5 separate regions of the Homo sapiens genome follow, and regions 1, 3, 4 and 5 are each linked to region 2. Evidence: promoter capture Hi-C in 16 types of primary human blood cells and fetal thymus (Javierre and others, 2016). All regions are on one chromosome and are shown on one strand. The core of a region is centred on a gene start or on the middle of the fragment in contact, and the rest is flanking DNA. Distances in the headings are between cores, read along the strand shown.

Region 1 (2,700 bases), core at 178-2,677, 4.2 Mb after region 2:
TGATCTACGGGAATTTTGTTTTTAAATACTGCCAAAATTAAGCTTTATAAATTGGGCCTTAACACAAAGAATTTTATCGTTGAAGTAGAATTTCTACTGCTATTCAAAAATACAACAGATGTTTGAGAATAAAATAGTTACTTTTCTGAGAATTTAGGGGTCTTTTTTGAGGTATTAGTGCTATTCAGAAAAAAAAGACTAGGCTTGGCTCGGCTTAGTGGCTCAGGCTTGTAATCCCAGCACTTTGGGAGGCTGAAGTGGGAGTGTAACTTGAGCCCAGGAGTTCGAGATCAGCCTGGGCAACATAGGGAGACCCTGTCGTTTTGTTTTTTCAAGCTACCCAGGTTCCAAAAGGTTTCAAGTTTTCCAAAATCTATTTTGACCAATAAATTCAGAACTTAAATGCTGTATCTTTTGAGACTGAACCTTTATTTTCTGAAAAACAGGTATTTCATACAATCTTTGCCATGTTAATGCAAATATGCACAAAGTAGGCATGTATTTGTTTTCCAAAAGATGCATTATGAACATTTTCAGGAAGCTGGTGTGATTTATTCAACTTTTAAATACAATCACAAAATTATATCCATCAGGAGGCATTACAACCTTTTGTACAGAAAAGCCACTATTTATACATTGTTACTAAGACAAGGAAGATTCAGTTCAACTCAACTTGCTCTTAGAATAAGGGTAAAAAGTAAATTAACAAGTAAGTGAAGTATGATGTTGTTGCCACTGACATTACAGGTGGAAATATAAGGGAAATTTAAACCAGAAAAATGACACAATAACTTTAAAGAGGAGCTGAAACTTTGTCAAAAAAAGAAAAAACTATTAGCCTGTTTTCAAAGAAAAACATTCTAAAAGTGTGCATTTCAGAACATAGAATTCTTCTAAGTTTACCATCTTCAAAAATCTTCTAAATTGTATGACACTTTTACATTAGCACAACAAACAGCTTTTTCTAAGTCTAGCCAAGTTCCCATGGAAGGCAAACGACCCTAAGTAGTTCATATTTTACAGCCCTTGAACTTATAAAGCTTTTCTCATTAAGAGTCAGTTTTACCCTTCTGTAAATAAGGATGGTGATACTGTTATCCAGGCCTAAAAAGCAGGAAGTGCAACAAACCCTTAGGGTTTCATGATACAGTGAATTTTCCCCTCCCCAACGTTTGGAAAAAATTGGGACACTTGCTAGTTCTTCCCTGTGGGAAGAATCTTTCTAATATTACCCAAATATTGAAAACAAAATCTACCTTCTTTAACCCTTGTATTAGTAATTCTACCTCCTTGGCTTATGGGGGGAAAAGTCCTAGTTTTAAATTGCTGGCATTTTACAAGCTCAACAAGATAAAAAATTGAACACTGGTTTTCATACTCTAATTTTATGTAAAACAAAGATGCTTAAATGTGCGAATAGTAAAGCATTCACTGATATTTGATGTATCTGAATAGGACTAACAGGCTAATTGTAGGTGCTTTCATATGAAAATAATTGGGAGAAAAGAAGAACCAGCTCCTTTGATTTCAGTACTGCCAAAACAAGTAAGCCCCCAGAGTTAATTACAAAAATGTAGAGGAAAATAGGCCCGGAAGACTTTGCAATTTAAAGTACTGCCTATAATACCCCAGATTAAAAAGGACCGAAGATTGCACATCAAGTCTAATATTTGGCTGTACTTGCATTGCCCTGCTCGGCATTTTTAAAAAATGGCTCTTTCCTTAAATTTCACACGTCAGAACAACCACAATTAAAAAAACAAAAAACAATGCAGATAACACCAAACATTGGACAATATTAAGAAAACTACTTACTAAGCTTAGGTAATAGAGGCAAGGGTTAAGGGCAGAAGTGATGGAAGTGTTTCTTTGTATTACAAACCCTCACCCTAAACCTGGGGTTTGGGCTCTAAAAAAGTAATTTAGGGAAGCAGATCAAGAGCCTGATTATCAGTTCTCACATGGAAATCTCAACAGATTTCAAAAGCAACTCACCACAAGTGTCAGACACAAAAGAATCTTAATAATCATCTAGCAAACTACACTAAGAACTCAATGACCAAAAATAATCAATCAAACTTCAAGACACACCAAAGCAACAGTAAAAGAGAAATAACTACACAAGCTAAGCTCTGTAGAGAAATCAACTAAAAATTAGGCAATTCTAGTAAATTAAAGACAGCAAAAAACTTAAGATTGAACTTCAATTTCCAAGGGTACTTTGAAGAGGTTGTTTGTAGGTTATTCTGTACCCCCTGATTCTTAAAGAAAGTGGAGGAGAGGGGGAGGCGACAGAGGAATGGAGGGAAAGGGGGAGGCAAGAGAGAGAAACAGGAGAGGATCCCTGGTTTTCCACAGGTATTTTATCAAAAATGTATGACTTCATAACTACAGCACTCTAACTTTTCTCAGTCTAACTGCTGAGGTCTCTTACGAAAGTTCAAATGGCAAGTCACCTTGTAGAATGACTTAACAGAGGAAGCCAAACTATACAGACCAGGGCCTTGTCCAGAGTGCAGTAAGGAGCAGGCTTTTGAAGTCATCTATTACATCTGCCTTACAACCAAACCCACTGTGTATGCCACATTATTCTTGGAGGGACCACTTTAAAACAAAAGTGATGGATAATTTACCAGAGGCACATGCTTTTGAAGTAAAGCTGTTTTTTGTTTTTGCTTGAGTAAGGTGCCAGGTACCTCT
Region 2 (2,700 bases), core at 168-2,667:
CCGTTCATATTGACATCAGCAATTTAAAAACTAGTCTTTGCTCCCCCTAAAAAAGGGGAAAAAAAATTTGCAACTTTAAGTGTCAGTGAAGTATTTCCTGTATACACACCTGTTGAGGCAGGCAATGAACACGTCCACTAATGCATAAAGAAATATCTCATTTATCTGCAAAAACCTGACCCTAGCCGGTCACAAAAGGGCAAATATTGTAAGATTCCACTTATATGAGATGTTAAGGGCAGTCAAATTCAGAGACAAATGGCGGTTGCTAAAGGCTGGGCGAAAGGAGAAATGGGGAGTTTAATGTGTAAAGAGTTTCAGACTGTGAAGATGAAGAAGTCCTAGAGATGGATGGTGATGTTTGCACAGCAATGTGAATGTACTTAATGCCACTTAACTGTAAAGCCACTTAAAATGGCAAATTTCATGTTATACCTATTTTACAATCAAGAAAAAAAACAGTCTGACCCTAATCCTCAAGCTCTCTGCAATGTACACGCCGCACTGTTTTAAGCAGCATCAAAACCATCATCTCTATCTGAGATCCTGAGTCCAATCACAAACCTACGGCGTATCTTCATTTCTTTCGTGCTTTTGAAACGTTTAAAGGGTAACACTGAGACCTGTGAAACCCGCCCAAGGCTACTAACAGCAAGAGGCCACCACCAAGCATAAGAAGTTGGGGGCTGGGGGATTGAAGGAGCCTTGGCTATGCACTGCAAAGTGCTAGCCTGAGCTTGCAAGGGAGGGATACCTGAAAACTCCCCATCGATGGCGAAGAAGTCGGCCTCCTCTATGGCCTGGTACACTTTGTGAAGATTACTCTTAAAATCTGCGGAGAAACCGAAAAGAGGCTCAGAACCAGTGGCCTGAATTCCTGCTAAGGGGAGAGGGAAGGAGGGCCGAGGAGCTCCCGAGGCTGAGAGCCGGAAGGGGAAAAGTCCCGGAGGTGTGCACCGGGGCGAGGGGAATCAAGTCCTCGAGGGGTGCATGGGTCAGGGGGGACAAGCCCCGGGGGGTGCCCGGCCCGGAGAAGGACAAGGCCCCGGATGGTGCCGGGGTTGGAGGAGTAAGTACAAGGCTCCTAGGGTGCACGGTCCGCAGCCGGAAAAGACCCCAAGAGGCGCACCGGCTTAAGGAGGGAAAAGCCCTGAGGGGCTGCCTCAGCCCCAGGCCCAGCCAAACACGCCGGCCATGGTCTCGGCCTAGCAGGCCAGGGGCAGCCGGGTGTGGGGAGGCGGGGAGGTGTACGGCGGACACGCACTGCTCCTGATTATCTCCATTCTGCAGAGTGGCCGGAACCTTGGCCCCACCCGGGCCCGCGCCCGCCTCAGCGGTTCTACTCGCCGAATTCCGCGGCGACTGCGGCAGTAGCTGAGGCAGCCGCAGCGGTGACGCCGGCCGCGACTTCCGGAAACAGCGCGCGCCTGCTGCGCTTGCGTCAGCGCCTGCGCGGCGGCGGGGGCGGGGCCAAGGCTGGGCTCCTTTCCCTCCTTATAGGGACAGGGGAGGGGCGTGGCTATCGAAGTCCCCAAGGCGTGGCCTAATTTGTGCGGGCTTTCACTTCAGTAGAAAAAATGTGCATGTCTCGACATCCAGTCGACCAGGAAATACTGACTGGGTTTCTGTGATATGCTAGCCACTCTTACAGGGGTGGAGATACAGTGATGAACAGGAAGACGTGCTCCCTGCCCCATTGTAGCTTAAACTTGGGGTAAGGGGAAATTCAGGCAGGAGTGAAACTTGCCATTTGGTAACACATGAAAATCGCTATTAAGAAAAAGAGCGGGGCGATGTAATAGAGAATAATGGGATCCGGGTGCGGTGGCTCACGCCTGTAAGCCTAACACTTTGGGAACCCGAGGCGGGAGGATCCGTTGAACTGAAGAGTTCGAGACCAGCCTGGACAGCATAGTGAGACCTGTCTCTTAAAAAAATAAAATTAGGCCGGACCCGGTGGCTTATGCCTGTAATCCCAGCACTTTGGAAGGCCGAGGCGGGCGGATCACGAGATCAGGAGTTCGAGACCAGCCTGGCCAACATAGTGAAACCCTGTCTCTACTAAAAATATAAAAATTGGCTGGGCTTGGTGACTCATGCCTGTAATCCTAGCGATTTGGGAGGCAGAAGCGGGCGGATTACCTGAGGTCAGAAGTTCAAGAGCAGCCTGGCCAACATGGTGAAACCCTGTCTCTATTAAAAATACAAAAAATTAGCCGGGTGCAGTGGTGCGCGCCTGTAATCCCAGCTATTCGGGAAGCTGAGGCAGGAGAATCTCTTGAACCTGGGAGGCGGAGGTTGCTGTGAACCGAGATCACGCCACTGCACTCCAGCCTGGGTGACAGAACGAGACTTGTTTTCAAAAAAAAAATTAAATTAAATTAAAAGAATAATAGGGGTTGTTACTTAGGTGATCACGGAAAGCAAAGCTGAGACCCTTAGCTACTGCATTAGCCTCTGGGAATACTATGTCGAGTGCAACATATGAGGCCCGGCCCTAATGGAATTGTATGTTGGTTTGGGGTTGCTGTTCTCCAATGCCTAGCACTGGGCTGACACGTAGTAGACACTCAATAAGCATGGGTTGAATGAATACATTCAGGTTGGTCTTTCACAAAAGCCAACTATGAAAAGTTGGTTAGTGCCGGATGCGATGGCTCACGCCTGTGATCCTGGCACTTTGGGAGGCCGAGGCAGGCG
Region 3 (2,700 bases), core at 190-2,689, 4.4 Mb after region 2:
GTACCTGTAATCCCATCTACTTGGGAGGCTGAGGCAGGAGAATCGCTTGAACCCGGGAGGCAGAGGTTCCAGTGAGCCAAGGTCTCCCCACTGCAATCCAGCCTGTGCGACAGAGTGAAACTCCATTTAAAAAGAACAAAAACAAAAAACAAAACAAAAAGGAAACAGAGACCTAGAAGTGGTATTACAGCAAAGGTTTTGAACATTTTAAGGCTTTTGAGCGCCAGATTCAGACACTCAGTAGTTTTACATGAGAGTGCTACAACATCCTCACTAAGTAGTATTTGGGTTCATCATAATTTTAAATTATTTTGGTGTGTCAATTTGAACACTAGAGTGATATAAAAACTAAAAACTTGAATTCAATAATTTTACAATTGTATTCCATCTTAAAATATTTTATGGTAAACTTGGATAAAGTATATAAATAATCCAAGGGTGTAAAGTAGAAAGTGAAAGCTCCCTTCTCCCAGTTCCAGCCCCCTGATGTTGCCAATATTAAACGTTGTATATCCTTGCAGACACGCATCTTTGATTTTTGCCCTCATGTACATTACTCATTTAAAAATTATTTCGTTGAGTAGATTCCTAAAAGTAAGACTGCTGTATTATATGATCTTTTTAAAGTATGTTGCTAAATTTCCCCTCCCTTCTCAAAAAATTCCAATTTGCACAAATATACATGCATACATGCACACAGTACATTAAGGTGGATACCAAGGATAAAACATGTTCTCTGTTTCTGAAAATAGAGAAAAGACCGGGAAGAAGTTTAAAGTTGGCTTTCAGCCCACCAATAGAGATAACACTATATAACACCATTAACCATGTGGTGCATGTAATTTAGATATACATATAATTTTATTTATTTATTTATTTTTCAGACAGGGCCCAGGCTAGAGTGCAGTGGCAGAATCACGGCTGACTGCAGCCTCGAGCTACCGGGCTCAAGCTATCCCCCCACCTCAGCCTCCCGAGTAGCTGGGACTACAGGTGTGCTCCACCAGACCCGGCTAATTTTTAAAATTATTTGTAGAGGCGGGGTCTCGCTATGTTGCCCAGGCTTACTATTTTAAAGTAGATGTAGGATACAAATAAAAAAAAAAATCTCCTTCCACGTAGGTAAAGCAGGAAATACCGTGCCTTGTTAATAAGTAATTCCCTCATGATCCTTTTCCCCAGGAACTTGGGTGAGAAATCATAACCTTGTCCTGATCTTTCTAAACAGCAATTTAGCATTTTCATCTCCCTGGCAACCCAAGGCGCCTTGGCCTTGGTCTTCCGAGTGATTGACAGTGACCCCACCCAATAAAATCTTTTTATTTGTCGTATCTAACCAATCTAACCCCTAGCGCAGAGCTAGGGGGCGTTCCCACCGGTGCGCGGGCGAGCTGAGCCTTCCTTACGTCTGCTGTGCGTCATCAGTCCGAGCCAAGGGCACTATTGGCCAGTTCCGTTCAACGAAGTGGTTGCTTTTTTTAGTTCCGGCAATGAGTTGCGCCGGGGCGGCGGCGGCTCCCCGCCTTTGGCGGCTGCGCCCGGGGGCCCGGCGGTCCCTCTCAGGTAAAAGGAGGCGCGCAGTCACAGTCCTGCGCCGGTCTAGCGAGCTAGGGAATTTTCGCTTGAGGTTTGGGTCGAAGAGGTCACGGGGGAGAGGTTCGTAACGTCACAGGCCTGCGACGGAGCGCGACTGCGTGACTTCGGCCTCCGGGGCGCTGGCGGGCGGGGCGGGGTCTGTAGTTAGCGGCGAGAGTGACAGGAGGACAGGGGTTGTTTCGGCAGTGACGCCTGGGGAGTGACGCAATTGCACCCCTGTGCAGTGATGTCACGGCAGGTGCGGCCAGCGTTCCGAGTCGAGGACAGTTGGCGACACTGAAAATTCAGCGTCTCCGGGAGTCTCTCTCTTTGTAGTCTTTGCCCAGGGCCTTGCCAGGCAAAGGGTAGCCCGACGACCAGCAGCCTCCGCTACTTCTGGGCGCTCGCTAGAAATACAGATTCTCGGGCCCCACCCCGACCTACTTGGTCGGTATCTGTGATCTGTGAACAGGACCTTTAGGTGATTTGCATGCACTGTAAACTGTGAAAGCCATCAGTGTAGTGGAAGGAGCATCGAATTTAGAGTAGAGAGACATGGTTTTGGACCCTGGTTCCTGCTTTCCTTGTTTCATCTGTGCTGCCTTAGAAAATTGTCATGAGCCCGGGCGCGGTGGCTCCGGCCTATAATCTCAGCACTTTGGGAGGCCGAGGCTGGAGGATCCCCTGAGGTCAGGAGTTTGAGACCAGCCTGGCCAACATGGTGAAACCCCGCCTCTACTAAAAATACAAAAATTTGCCAGGCGTGATGGCAGGTGCCTGTAATCCCAGCTACTCAGGAGGCTGAGACAGGAGAATCGCTTGAACCCGGGAGGCAGAGATTGCTTTGAGGCGAGATTGCACCACTGCACTGCAACCTGGGCGTCAGAGCGAGACTTTGTCTCCCCCGCGCAAAAAAAAAAAAAAAAAAGAAATTTCATGAAGTCGTTTTCTCAACGTTAAATTACCGTGTACCACTTTCGGGATTTTTGCCTAATGGCAGTACTGCTTGAACTTTTGATTACTAGATGTGTTTTTTTGTATAGCTATGTCCCATTTAAAAATTAAATTAATTTCCTTGAAACAAAATCCTTATGGTGAATGGGAAGCCAGTGCCACTTGCCACAA
Region 4 (2,700 bases), core at 27-2,526, 4.9 Mb after region 2:
CTTTAACCCTTGTTCACTTCCAGTGTTGGGAATAGCAGGTACGAGTGGATATACTTTCCTACTCATACTGAGCTGAACACTGGAGGGCCCGTTCTGGAGATGATCCTTTTCCCTGTCATAGGTCACCATCTCATGAACAACCACAGACCACCACCCCCGAATGAAAAGTAAGAGTTATAAAAACATCGAATGCTTTCTCTCTAAGGGACCATAATGGATATCTAAGTAAGTTATAAAAGTAATAATTAAAAAAAAAATTTTTTTTTGAGATGGAGTTTCGCTCTTGTAGCCCAGGCTGGAGTGCAATGGCGCAATCTCGGCTCACTGCAACCTCATCCTCCCGGGTTGGAGCAATTCTCCTGCCTCAGCCTCCCGAGTAGCTGGGATTACAGGCGCCCGCCACCATACCCAACTAGTTTTTGTATTTTTTAGTAGAGACGGGGTTTCACCATGTTGGCCAGGCTGGTCCCGAACTCCTGACATCAGGTGAACCACCCACCTCGGCCTCCCGAAGTTCTGGGATCATAGGCCTGAGCCACCGCTCCCGGCCTAAAATAATTTTTAAAAACGTTCTGTGGTCGAAATGGATATCCACCTTCCTAGAAACACTGCTTTGCCAAGTTGGACGAAATGCGAACCCTAATTTCCCCACGTGCATTAGCTGTAGTCAATCATATTAGATCTAGGGCAGCCCTCGGTTGCTAGTCGTGGGAAGGGCATTCTGCAAGTGTCTAAAACCGCCCGCAAAGCAGTGGGTAAAGCAGCGGCCTAGAGGGGGCATGGCTGTCCCACGCCAAACAGCGTATTAGCCGCAAAACCAGGTACTGGCTGAACCTCAGTTTGCGTCTTCGCTCCGCCGCCTTCTGGAGTCCTTTCTGCCCCTAGAGGACGCAGGTGAGCTAAGCAGCAGTCATGCCCTTTACCATCATGACGCCCGCAGGCGGGACCACCCGGCACTGTAGACAGCTGCCCTTTACAATCATGACTCATAGAAACTACGGCACTCTGGCCGTGGCCGACGTTGCTCCTCCGAAGCATGGCGCCGGCGGGAGTTGTAACCCGGGCTGTCCGGAGCGGGGAGCTGCCCCTCACAAGCATGGCGTCAGCTGAAAATGAAGCCTGTGCTGTGCGGAGCGTCGCCTGCCCCTCACAAGCATGGCGTCTGCAGAAGGTGCTGTGCGGCCGCTGCGGGGCGGCCAGCTGCCCTTCACAAACATGGCGGCCGAGGGGTGCGGGGAGTGGCGGGGTAAGGATGGGAAGCCGAGCAGACGGCCCCAGAACAAGCGGTCATGTGACTGGGAAGATGGCCGTCTTTCCTTGGTAAGGAAGCAGCGGCGGGTGGGCTTTGGAGAGGGGCTGTCCTTACTTGTGATGGGGTCGGCCTGGGTCTGAGAGTGTGAATTCCTCTCTGTCGGGTTCTGGTGGTCGACCGGCCACCCCCAAGTTGTCTTGACCGTAGAATCCCTGGCCGCTACCGCGGTCCAGCGGAGCAATCTGAAGCCAGACTGGCGGGTTCTTGGTTCTCTCCCCGTCTGCTGCCTCTCTGCGCCTTCCACGGGCCCCTGTCCATTCATTCCCTAAAGAAAACTTGAGTTTCCAGGCTTCCGCGTCCCCAGAAGTTGGCGCGGGTTCTGGGGTCGCTGGATGAGGGTAATGGTGGACTCAGCTTTTAAAGTCTGGACGAGTCGGGAGATCTGGCTGTTGGTCAGTTTCCTCAGCTCCTCTGTTCACCTGGAGACTTGCTTTTCTCATCTGTAAAATGGCCGCCATTCATCCTATCCTAGGCACAGCCCTCAGACTTATTCCTTGGCCTCAAGGAGCTGACAGTATAATGGGGCAGACGCACAGTAGAGGGATGTCTAAAGAAGGCATTCGGATGAGGCACCAAGAAGGGAGTGATTATCCCCACCAGGGGGCTAGGGGAAGGCTTCAGAGAGGAGGAGTTAAATTGGGTCTTGGAGGATGAATAGGAGTCCACCATAGGGAGGGCGTGGCGTGTGCCTGGTTGGCAGGCCCGTAGGTCCCTTGTGGTTGGAGTAGCTAGGAATGAGTGACTGAAGCTTCAGGGTTCAGCAGGTGGTATGTGTGTGAGTGAAGAACTTGAGGAAGTTGTGTTGTTGATGATAGTGGGATTTGGGGACGGGGAATCTCTCCTGCATCTCAGAAAGCGAGATAATTTACTTTCTCTTCAAATGATGTGAAGTAGCTTAGATTAAATGAGCAAATGAAAGACCTTAGAAATAATCAGGTACAACCTTCTGCTTTTGAGCTTGATAAACACTTCATTTTGTCTTATTCCTTTCATTTGCCCAACACTTAAGAGACTGCTTCCTTGACACGCTACATCAGCATTGAATGCCTCTGAGCACTTCCACACCCTGAGGTTTTTTTTTTTTTTTCAGTTAATAGTCATGCTGGCTGGGTATGGTGGCTCACGCCTGTAATCCCAGCACTTTGGGAGGCCGAGGCTGGCGGATCACCTGAGGTCAGGGGTTCGAGACCAGCCTGGCCAACATGGCGAAACCTAATCTCTACTAAAAATACAAAAATTAGCTGGGCTAAATTAGTGGTGGCACGCACCTGTAATCCCAGCTACTTGGGAGGGTGAGGCAGGAGAGTCGCTTGAACCTGGGAGGCGGAAGCTGGAGTGAACCGAGATCATGCCACTGCACTCCAGCCTGGGCAACAGTGAGACTCTGT
Region 5 (2,700 bases), core at 43-2,542, 3.7 Mb before region 2:
ATCCTTCTAGGACAAGCGAGAATCCCCCAAAAGCCAAGGTCATCATCAAGCCAGGATGAGGACTGGAGGAGGAGCTGACAGCTCTGCCTCAAATGGATTTGGGAGCGAAGGCTTTTTCCATAAGCTTTGGGGGTAAGTCACAGAGCTACCCCAAATGTAACTTAGTCTCGGGGTCTCCTTCCTTTTCACCAGCTGTCCCCTTTGCTGGAGGAAGCTTTCCAGCCCAAACGAAGGGCTTAAGAGGAGTCTGGCCATTCCTGGCATCCAGTTAGACCTGGAGGAGGTGAACGGAGGAGAAGCCTGAGGGAGGGGTGTGTATCCGGCCTGGGAATTCCTCCCTCTCCCTTGCTAGCGCCCCAACCCGCCCTCATCCTGTTCAGAGAGGGCACTTACAGGCCTCGGAGGCAGGGGAGGGTCTCCTCCTGGGGAACCATCCCCGTCCAGATGGTGCCCCCAACCAGCTGCGGCGGCATGATCTGGGCGGCTGGTCCAGGGCATGGGTTGCGGATCGTGTAGGGAAGAGGGGAACAGCAGTCGAGACCCTACTCCAAGTACGCATCAAAGACGTCGAGCTCCGAGTCAGCATCGTAAAGGCCCGAGCCGGGGTCGGAGAGCACGCCGAGGTCCACGAGCGCCTGGTCCATGTCCTCGGGCAGGAAGACGAGGCCCACGTTGAGGACGATGTACTCCATGAGGAAGGCGTAGTACAGGATCAGCACATTGACGAAGAACAGGCCCACGTAGAACATAGAGGGCAGCAGCGGCGGCGGCACGTAGGGGACCAGGGGGCCCAGTGCGTCCAGGTGGGCCGCGACCCGGGCGCCGAGCATGCAGCGGGTGGCAAGGGCGGCGGCCCGGCGATCCCGGCGAACTCAGCCGCTGCGGCGCCCGGGCGGCCGGCGAGGGCACAGCGCAGCCATCCAGGGGTACCCTGGAGCCCGACAGAAGCAGGGCCGGGCTCCAGATGTCCCCTGGCAATTGCGCCCCGACCCCCGAAATGCGCCGGGCGGGTCACCGCACCCCGAGATGTGCCCCCAAGGATCTCTCGACCGCCCGGGCGGCGAGGCGGGCCCCCCTGAAGTGGCCCGCGGCTGCCCGGCTCCCTCGTGGCGCCTCCCTGGCGCTCGCAGGGCCTCGCAGAGCCGGTGGGGATCCCACCGCGGCTCAGTGTCTAGGGCCGGTCCCGGCAGCCTTCTCTCCCGCCCCGCCCCGCAGGTCCTCGCGCACCCCCCGCGCCCCCGCAGGCCCAGCACCCATGGCTGCGGCCGCCGCGTAGCCCTCCCGGTGGCGCTCGGAGCTCCGCCTCCCGAGGGGCCCCGAGCTCATTGGCAGGCCGCCCCCTGCACGCGCTAATTGGCCGGCTCAACGCCCGCGCTGATTGGCTCCGGCCGCCAGGGGGCGGGTACCGCTTCGCTCCGCCCCTCGGGGCCCTAGCGTCTGAGTTGCTTTCCTGGTTCGGGTCTGCCCTCAGATCTCAAATCGAATTCGCTCTGCGTATCGAATAGGGGGAGGTAAAAGAGACTGAACACAGTTCAAACCTAGACATAATGCTAAGGCCGCAAAAGCCGAAGGAAACCCGGGCTACCGCTGCACCTTGCTGCATGCCTCTTTGGGACTCCGTTTCTCCTTTAAAAGGAGGCGGGGTCGGGGAGGGGCGACGGACGGTTGCCCTGGAAATTTTGGACATTCCCAAAGCGCCAATTTTCATGGTGGAGATCCACCAGTGTCCCCTTCGCTTCTCCAAACTCTGGTTGCTGGAAGGTCCGCCCACTACGGAACCTGCATCCTAGAGTTAAGGAACACCTGAATAAAGAGATTCCGAGGTAGTTCAGATCTTCAACCATAAGGATGCTTTTTGTTTCTTTTTACTTTGTGAATCATGTTTAAAAGCAATAATACACATGGCTAAACATTCAAACAACCGTGAAGTACACAGAAAAGTGAGTCTCTCCCACCCACTGGTTCCCCTGCTCTTGGGTAACCGTTGCATGTCTTTCAGGAAAACATGATCTCGCCCAAAGAGCCTTCCAAAGCAGTTCAAGAAACCTTTAAATCTCAGGCCACACTGAGCTGAGTATTTTACATGCATCGCTTAATCGGAGGTATACAAGGCAGTGTAGTATGTATGTGCGTACTTTTTACAGATGAAAAATACGAGCCCAGGGATCCTACATTTCTGAGCCTGGGTGTGTTTCTTTGGAGGCCAGATCCTGTTCTTTTTTGCTCCATGACTTTGTCTTGCCCCACTCTATATGAATTACAGGACAAACCATTAACTCTCCACTCTTATCCATTTCTCCAACTGCTGAAGGTGAAACAAACCTTTACTCATTCATGCACTCTACCAATATTTGTTAAACACCTGCTATGTGCCAAACCTTGTGCTAGGCACTGGGGAGAACATTGGCCTCTGGCCCAGTTCTTTCTTGAGCAGAGTTAATGGGACACAGTGGACCTTTAATAAGGTTGATATGTAGAAGTGACTGAATGAATGAATGGATGGTAAACTTGAGAAGTCTTGCCCACACTGAACTTACCACTTCTAATCCAGGGTAGAAGTTAGATATATTCTGGCTCATGCAGAAAGTTGGGTGTTTCCTTTTTCATTTTAACGTGGTACTTTGGGAAATAGCATGGATTCTGGCTGAAGACCAGAGGAATCCTCTGGAAGTACAAAATGTTCAGTTTGGTGCATTGTTG

The links. Contacts are between HindIII fragments. The CHiCAGO score rates a contact against its expected background, and 5 or more counts as called.
Region 1: a contact is called between a fragment that was not itself captured here and the fragment with the promoter of PARN in region 2, in 1 of 17 cell types (monocytes). The highest score is 5.6, in monocytes.
Region 3: a contact is called between the fragment with the promoter of COQ7 here and the fragment with the promoter of PARN in region 2, in 1 of 17 cell types (neutrophils). The highest score is 6.9, in neutrophils.
Region 4: the fragment with the promoter of VPS35L here is called in contact with the fragment with the promoter of PARN in region 2 in 2 of 17 cell types (total CD4 T cells and fetal thymus); the score reaches 5.6 in total CD4 T cells.
Region 5: the fragment with the promoter of DEXI here is called in contact with the fragment with the promoter of PARN in region 2 in 3 of 17 cell types (non-activated CD4 T cells, naive CD4 T cells and naive CD8 T cells); the score reaches 7.2 in non-activated CD4 T cells.

The regions. Positions count from the first base shown.
Region 1 is chr16:18,804,450-18,807,149 of GRCh38, forward strand. It overlaps SMG1 (SMG1 nonsense mediated mRNA decay associated PI3K related kinase), which reads right to left. Exons shown (of 63, transcript NM_015092.5): 63 at 411-2,700. Among named protein-coding and RNA genes, the nearest start is that of ARL6IP1, 4.3 kb to the left of the region's middle. The HindIII fragment of the contact is 779 bases long and covers 1,039-1,817 here.
Region 2 is chr16:14,628,843-14,631,542 of GRCh38, forward strand. It overlaps PARN (poly(A)-specific ribonuclease), which reads right to left and starts at 1,418. Exons shown (of 24, transcript NM_002582.4): 1 at 1,265-1,418; 2 at 755-832. The coding sequence starts at 1,283. RefSeq lists enhancers at 386-909, 910-1,431, 1,432-1,954. The HindIII fragment of the contact is 4,468 bases long and covers 1-2,700 here.
Region 3 is chr16:19,066,175-19,068,874 of GRCh38, forward strand. It overlaps COQ7 (coenzyme Q7, hydroxylase), which reads left to right and starts at 1,440. Exons shown (of 6, transcript NM_016138.5): 1 at 1,440-1,563. The coding sequence starts at 1,491. It overlaps COQ7-DT (COQ7 divergent transcript), which reads right to left and starts at 1,517. Exons shown (of 3, transcript NR_119381.1): 1 at 1,407-1,517. RefSeq lists a silencer at 1,464-1,623 and an enhancer at 1,654-1,803. The HindIII fragment of the contact is 11,366 bases long and covers 1-2,700 here.
Region 4 is chr16:19,554,427-19,557,126 of GRCh38, forward strand. VPS35L (VPS35 endosomal protein sorting factor like) reads left to right here and starts at 1,277. Exons shown (of 31, transcript NM_020314.7): 1 at 1,277-1,320. The coding sequence starts at 1,304. RefSeq lists enhancers at 872-1,351, 911-1,873, 1,732-1,961. The HindIII fragment of the contact is 7,423 bases long and covers 1-2,058 here.
Region 5 is chr16:10,941,176-10,943,875 of GRCh38, forward strand. It overlaps DEXI (Dexi homolog), which reads right to left and starts at 1,293. Exons shown (of 2, transcript NM_014015.4): 1 at 394-1,293. The coding sequence starts at 830. The coding sequence ends at 543. It also overlaps a transcript of CIITA not described here. RefSeq lists a silencer at 883-1,432. The HindIII fragment of the contact is 2,950 bases long and covers 213-2,700 here.